Linked DNA regions of Homo sapiens: region 1 is linked to region 2. Evidence: promoter capture Hi-C in human tissues and cell types (Jung and others, 2019). All regions are on one chromosome and are shown on one strand. The core of a region is centred on a gene start or on the middle of the fragment in contact, and the rest is flanking DNA. Distances in the headings are between cores, read along the strand shown.

Evidence for each region. Contacts are between HindIII fragments. The study calls those that stand out against the background at their distance.
Region 1: a fragment that was not itself captured here is called in contact with the fragment with the promoter of OTUD1 in region 2 in 1 of the 25 tissues and cell types used here (dorsolateral prefrontal cortex).

Annotation. Positions count from the first base shown.
Region 1 is chr10:24,438,342-24,442,338 of GRCh38, forward strand. KIAA1217 reads left to right here. Exons shown (of 21, transcript NM_019590.5): 5 at 45-138. LOC124902395 (a long non-coding RNA gene) reads right to left here and starts at 1,125. Exons shown (of 2, transcript XR_007062090.1): 1 at 1,049-1,125. RefSeq lists an enhancer at 2,453-2,502. The HindIII fragment of the contact is 3,642 bases long and covers 713-3,997 here.
Region 2 is chr10:23,436,836-23,440,405 of GRCh38, forward strand. OTUD1 (OTU deubiquitinase 1) reads left to right here and starts at 2,240. Exons shown (of 1, transcript NM_001145373.3): 1 at 2,240-3,570. The coding sequence starts at 2,623. RefSeq lists silencers at 1,969-2,558, 2,609-2,948, 3,089-3,458. The HindIII fragment of the contact is 8,203 bases long and covers 1,448-3,570 here.

The DNA.
Region 1 (3,997 bases), core at 1,284-3,783, 1.0 Mb after region 2:
AGGCTTCTTTCATCTGCCATAGTTATCGATGTTTTTGATTCCAGGAACATTCAAGACAGATCACTCCTCAAAGTGTACAACAAGGATCCTGCACATGCGTTTAATCACACACCAAAAACTATGAATGGAGACATGAGGGTAAGTGTTTCTGTCATATTTTTACTTATCTTCAGTGGGTCAAAGCGTCCCTCCTCTTGCTTGTACTCCTGATGTAATCAGAACTCTACAACTGAGTTTTGGAGGGTTCTCCGCACTCATCTCACCTAGTGGATCATTATTTGTTCTTGGTAGAGAAGTAAGATTTCCTGGTTATTTAGGGCAAAGGGATTAAAATAAGGCTGGACACATCCTAATTTATCTTTAAGCAAGGAGTTATGTCCTTACTTTAAATGAATTCTGAAAATCTTCCTATAAAAGGGTCCCTGGTCCACAGTATATTAACTGACTCAGAAGATCTCTTGCATTTCTTTCTCCAATTAAAGCAAACCTAACATACAAAAAGGCAAACAGCAAGGTGCACAATTGCATGGAAAATCTATTCATACTCTTACATTAGCTCTTCCAAGTTCTAACATTCTAATTCAATTTCTCACCTTCTAATTCAGGAGCTACCCTGGAAGAATTTTGTTGTTGTACTGTCTTAAATATTACCATATCCTCTCTGAGCCATGCTGAGGTCATAATACAAAAATCCGCATGATTTGGGAACTAAAATTCTCTAGCTTTAGATTGTCTCAGGAGATTATCCAAACATTCAAAGCACACAGGGATGTTTTGAAGAAAAAAGAAGGAGAAACTGAAAAAGCAGATTTTAAGATCATATTAATGCAGGTCCACTAGAAAGGGATTGAGTTTCTAAAAATAAGGCTACATTCCTCTGTAGCAAAACTGGGAGGTAAAAAGAAGATTAGCTTCTCAGCTGTACACCCCCTACACACACACACACACATTTGGAAGACACTGTGCCATTTTTTCTCATCTTTTCTACAGATTAGCACTTGGCTGGATGCTCAAGTTTAGCTAGAAAAATAAATAAATAAATGATTACCTTTTATTGCCAAAGAAACCCAGGCACTGTTCTGTCTTGGAGCTGCAGTTTTGTTCCTGAGCGAGGCTGTCTCTGCTTCCTGATAGTACATATTAGTTTCCTGTTGCTGCTGTAATAAATTAGGACAAATTCAGTGACTTAAAACAACACAGATTTACTCTCTTAAATTTTAGAGTCTGTAGACTGAAAGTCTCTGGTCTGACATAAGGGGTCACCAGCAGGTATGCATTCTTTTCTGGAGGCCCTAGGGAGAATCTTTTCTTTTTTTTTTTTTTCCCCCAACTTCTAGAGGTCATCAACATTTCTTGGTTTGCTGTCCTCTTCCTCCATCTTCAAACCCAGCAAGATAGCTTCCCTTTGACCCTGCTTCCATGCTCACATCCCTAACCCTCCCATGTCCACTTTTAAGGACACTTTAAGGACATTGAGCCTCCCTGATCCTCCAGAAAAATCTCCCTATTTCAAGGTCAGCTGACTGGCAATCTTGACTCCCCCTTTTCCATGTAACCTGATGTAGTCACAGGTTGAGGGGACTAGGATGCAGACATCTTTCAGGGACCAGCATTCTGCTTTCCATATTGGGTAAGTTTAGAACCATAAAAGAAGCCAGCAGATCTAGCTGAAAGTGCTGGGAGAAGGTCTGTCCTTCTGGACTGGAATATGAATGACGACATTGTGGGATCAGAGCCTACACTTCTGGAGGGAAAGGCCTCTCACGTACTCAACTGCTGTTATTTTTGTGTCAGAAATGATGTGTGACTTGAATTGAAAGCTGTGTCGCTACTTCAGAAATTCTAGGATTTTCAGCCTTATTTTGCCAGTTATACTTTATGTGTAAACCAGAGCCACATGGAGACAGATTGAGTCATGCCAATCGTGAAGCATGGACTAAATATTACAGCACCATTTGCCTTTTATTACTCTGTTATTCTCTTTCTTGGAGACATTCATCAATGTCTTCGCTCCTTGAATATCTTTATTTTTTGCTATGTCTAGCCTTCACCCTGGAGTTCCATGGTGCTGAGAGTTCTGTTCCTATCACATAGAGCCATTTCCACACCGGTGCCCCAGAATCGCCTCTGAGAATCTTGTTTGTGGCTGGAAAGACACCTGTTTTAACCCTCCAGCAGCTCTGGTACCTACGTAAGGACCAGCAGTGAGGACTGAGAGTATCGAATATTGACCGTATGAACAAAGCTGATCAGGATATGCAGAACATGTGCTGTGGGTTTCTGCAGAGTGGTTCTGTTCTTACTTCAAGATGAAACCCTGCTGATCACTTTTTCTGGGTTACCCAGAGCCTACTTTAAGCCCTCATTTTGTGTGTGTGAGAAACTCAATCATTGTCCCCAAATGAAGGGACAGTAAATGTTCACCATCTAACCAGCAGAAAAGCTTTTGTGTTTCAATGCAGATTACTTAGAAATGAGAAATAGAAAGCGGTTTCAAAGCCAGCTAGGTGTGATCATGCCTGCAGTTTGCAACTTGGTTCCTGTTCACAGATTGCAGACGCTAAAAGGCATGGAATTCAGCTGCCCTCACCTTTTGGCTCTGCAGGTTGGAATTCTTTTTCCTTTCTTGATGAATGTGGCTGCATTGCCATTAAAGGGCAGGAAGCTTTGTTGAGCCCTGCCTCTGGAGCCCAGCTGCACAACCCACTGCCCATGGTGGAGAACAGAAACAGAGAACAGAGCAAGCATCAATTGTTGTAGACTAAACCACGCTGCAGCGTGGGGTTAGGGAACTCCGTCCTCCCTTATGTTTGCAATGTGAGCGTGGCCATGAAGGAATTCGATGCTAACTACTCACATGAGTCAGTCACTGCAGTCCTGCCCCTGATGTCATTAGACCTCACTCCCCAGCCTCCAGAGACAGCCTGGCACAGACCTCCCAGCTGCCTGCTTATGACCAATAAACATGCATGTCATGAAAAACATCAGTTGGAATAAGCAGAGGGGCAACAAAAGTCACACCAGAACTCCTCAGGGGCTCCTGAGACTTTCCTTAACCAATGAATGTAATATCTTGCCTTTGAAAGAAAAGAAAATGTAAAACTCTCCATCTAAAACAGTCTTCCCAGAGCGGTTTTATGATTGGAAATGTGTTACTCAGGAAGCGTGCTAGACTAGGCCTCAGAGTGTGCGTGGAATGCATGCTTGGTGGGGAAAACGTGTACTAAATTTTCATCTAGCATCTAGCTGAGCATTTTTGAGGCTAGTCTGTCTAAGGAGACTTGTGGTTCTCGGCTGGAACTCAGCATACCTGGCTCCTGTTTCTCTACCCACCACCCTGATCTAATTTAATTGCGTGGCTTTTGTTTCCTTACATCAGATAGGAGCTTTGATAATTCAGTTCCCAAGGGACTGAGCTCACCATATGGAACAGGCCCTTTTGCAAAATTTATATATGTACTCACAGGGTTTTAAATTCACAAATGTACAACTTGAAGATGGAACCATTCCATTTCATGACTCTCAAAAAGTACACGTTTTTCCATACCAGCAGTTTGTTGAAGGAACTGGACAATTCTGCTTTGAGGGTGACTTGCTAGTCACCAAACCTGGTGGCTTTTTCATAGTGTGGGGGCTTCTCCACCTTCTTGTGTGCTTTAAGACAACTTTCCAAGACTCTCTGCTCTCATCATTTAATACTCTCCCTCTTCTCTGCTTCCTTTAATTTCTCTTGCATGTCTTTGATTTTTACTTGTATATAGACAATTACCAGATTGGCCCTACCTCTTAAATTATTCCCCAATACCCAAGGTAACTGCTGCCTCCCACCCCTCTTCTACTGATCTTTGTATTTGACACCAGTGAATGGTCCCCTTATAAATCATTGGTCTCCATGGCACTTTTGTGTCTAAATACCTTGTCTGCATTCACAGACACCTCAGCTTCCTTCATTCCCTAACTCTTCTTCCTCTTGCCTGTGTTTAAGCAGGCTTCTCTA
Region 2 (3,570 bases), core at 990-3,489:
TTTCAAATCTTCACCTCTTTGTTTTTGTCTGCTGCTAACTTGGTACATCAGAGGTAGTGTGTCTTCTGTGGACCTAGTGTTTTGTTGTTGTTGTTGCTGTTTTCTGCATTTACCCCAACCTGTTAATATCTACTCTTGCTTTAGGGTTTAAATTCTAATATTTTCCTTATCTCCCTTCAGGCTCCAGTTATGCTAGTCCTGCCAGGCACGTGGTGGGTATGGTAAATATTATTTGGTGACGGCCTTGTTAACAGTCTTGTCTTCTGTTTCAGAACACCAGCTAATGAAAGAGTTAAGCGTGAAGTGCTTCATGCACAGAGCAACAGATGCTCAACAAATCAGTGATGAAATCCAAGGATGGTAATTTCCTTTTTCTAATTAGCCATGAGAGCTTCAAGCTCCCAATGGGGTAGTTACCAGAATTTGAAAAGTTAGACAGTCATTTACCTTCTTCTGAGTTAATTTACATAAGCGGCTGGAGTGACCTGAGCTGGGACCCTGCCAGTCATACTGCCCAAAGATAATTAAAAGCCCTGGCTAGGGTCAAGGGACCTGGATAGTAATCTTGGCTTCACCACTGTCTGACAAACCTTGGAAACTCGCTTTCCATCTACTCATTCACTTAGTAAATATTAATTAGGTCCAATTATGTGCCAAGCACGGTGTTAGGGGATGGAAATATAAGAGCAAGACCCAAGTCTCTCAATTCCTGGAATTCACATTCCACCGGAAAGGTGGGGACCGGAGTACAGCCTACATCACCTACAGGTTCAGTCTCCCTATCTCTAAAATGTTAGGACAACCTCTGGGTTCAATTCGAATGTTTAGGCCCTGTTAATTTAGCATTTGATCACAGCTCAGAATATAGCAAAAGTCTCCCACTACCTCTGGCTTTCCCTTACAAAGGCGGGTATTACAAAAAGACTCGGTAGAAGTATTTTCTATAGTCTATCTTGCCCCGGAATGCAGGTCACGACTTTCTCCACCGCTTTTGACCTCTGGCTAGCATTCACACCTATTCTCAAAGGGCCCTAAGTGATACTGCATTTGGTATTCTGAGAAAGCTTGTTTATAAAAGCCTAAAAGGCTTCCTTGCTTTCCCCCAAGCCAGATATTTGCCAAATGGCATAGGTCAGAGGTGCAAAGTTGGTTTTGTCTTAGCAAGGCAAGAGAATCCACTAGCGGACTCACCCTTACCGGTGAGTCCAAGGAAATGCATAGAAAAGACACAGTGGTAAAACTAGCTGGGCACCTGTAATCCCTGCCCAAGGCAAGGCTGAGGAAGGGGGATCACTTGGGCCCTGGAGGTCGAGGTCGCAGTGGGACATGATGGCGCCACTGCACTCAGCCTGGAAGGCAGAGCAAGACCTTGCCTCAAAAAGAAAAAGAAAAAAAAAAAAAGGAAAAGACGCGGCGGTTCCACGAGTGGTGGCTAGGACCCATAATCCCAACACTTTAGGAGGTCGAGGCGGGAAACAGCTTGAGGCCAGTAGTTCGACACCAGACTGGGCAACTGTGGTGAGACCCTCGCCTTAAAAAAAAAGAAAGAAAGAAAGAAAGAAAATTAGCCGGGTGCGGTGGTGCACACCTGTGGTTTCCAGTTACTCTGGAGGTTGAGGCGGGAGGATCGCTTGAGCCCGGGAAGTCAAGGCTGCAGTGAGCTATGGACTGCGCCACTACACTCTAGCTTCGGAGACAGGTAAGACCCCCATCTCTAAAAAGATAAAAGAAAAGAGGCAGTAGTGAATGCAAGCAGGGATGGTAGCCCATGACCAGCAGAGGCCAAACAGACTTTAAGGCAGCATTCCGTTCTCCACACCCATGCCGGAAGCTTTCCTGCCACGCAAGCTTTCCGAGCATGCTAACTCGCCCCAAGCAGCTCCCATCCCGCAGCATCCACTGCAGCCGCTGAGGAGAGTGGCGCAGCGCAGAAACCAGTGCCCAGTGCCCAGGTGGGGGAAGCGGTCCGTGGGAGTCACGTGGGCGGGAGGCCCAGCCAGGATCCCAGGACTGCTCAGGCCTCCGCGCCCCCGGCCTCGCCCCGCCCGCGCGCGCTCGCGCGCCGAGGGCCACGCCCGTGACGTCGGCGGAGCGCGGTAGGGGGCGGGGCGCGGGCCGGAGTGGGCGGGGCGAGCAGGCGCGACTGAATCGGGCGCCGCAAAGAGCCGCGCATTCCAGTGAGTCCACGTGACGCGGCCGCGAGGCCTGAGGTAAACAACCGCGGCCCCGCCTCCCGGGCCTCCGCGCGCACCGCGCTCCTCCTCGCCGGCGGGACGCGCTCCAACGGGGCGGGCGGCTTCCTCCGTGAGTCCCCAGCGGCCGCCGCGGGCCGAAGCAGCTGCAGCGGGCGCGGCGCCCCGGGTCTGCGGGCCGAGCGCACCGGCAGGGGTCGAGCTCGCGTCCCGTCCCCGCCCCCCTGCGCTGTGGCGCAGCAGGAATTTGGCCGGGACCCGGGCGCTATTCGCGGCTGCTGACTCGCGGCGGCCGGCTGCCTTTCGCTCATCTCTATTCTGGGGCCGTTGGGTCACCGCGCTCCGCCGGCCCCCTCCCCCGGGCCCGGAGGGTGTGTCCCCCGCTCCGGGGCTCGCCGCGCCTATAAGGGGCCGAGCGGCGGGCAGGGACATGCAGCTCTACAGCAGCGTCTGCACCCACTACCCCGCCGGGGCCCCGGGTCCCACGGCCGCCGCCCCCGCGCCACCCGCCGCCGCTACCCCCTTCAAGGTCTCGCTGCAGCCCCCGGGAGCCGCCGGCGCCGCGCCCGAGCCCGAGACCGGTGAGTGCCAGCCCGCCGCGGCCGCCGAGCACCGGGAAGCCGCCGCTGTCCCCGCCGCCAAGATGCCCGCCTTCTCCTCCTGCTTCGAGGTGGTGTCCGGGGCCGCCGCGCCCGCCTCCGCCGCCGCCGGCCCGCCCGGCGCGTCCTGCAAGCCGCCGCTGCCGCCGCACTACACGTCCACCGCACAGATCACCGTGCGGGCCCTGGGCGCCGACAGGCTCCTGCTGCACGGGCCCGATCCCGTTCCCGGCGCCGCGGGCTCCGCCGCTGCCCCGCGCGGCCGCTGCCTCCTGCTCGCCCCGGCGCCCGCAGCCCCGGTCCCGCCGCGGCGGGGCTCCTCGGCCTGGCTCCTGGAGGAGCTGCTGCGGCCCGACTGCCCCGAGCCCGCGGGCTTGGACGCGACACGGGAGGGGCCCGATCGGAACTTCCGACTGAGCGAGCACCGCCAGGCCCTGGCCGCCGCCAAGCACCGAGGCCCCGCGGCGACCCCGGGGAGCCCCGATCCCGGCCCCGGTCCGTGGGGCGAAGAGCACTTGGCGGAGAGGGGCCCCAGGGGCTGGGAGAGGGGCGGCGATCGCTGCGACGCGCCCGGTGGGGACGCGGCGCGGAGGCCCGACCCAGAGGCCGAGGCACCCCCCGCCGGGAGCATCGAGGCCGCCCCGAGTAGTGCGGCGGAGCCGGTGATCGTCTCCAGGTCGGATCCCAGAGACGAGAAGCTGGCCCTATACCTGGCCGAGGTGGAGAAGCAGGACAAGTATCTGCGGCAGAGGAATAAGTACCGATTCCACATCATTCCA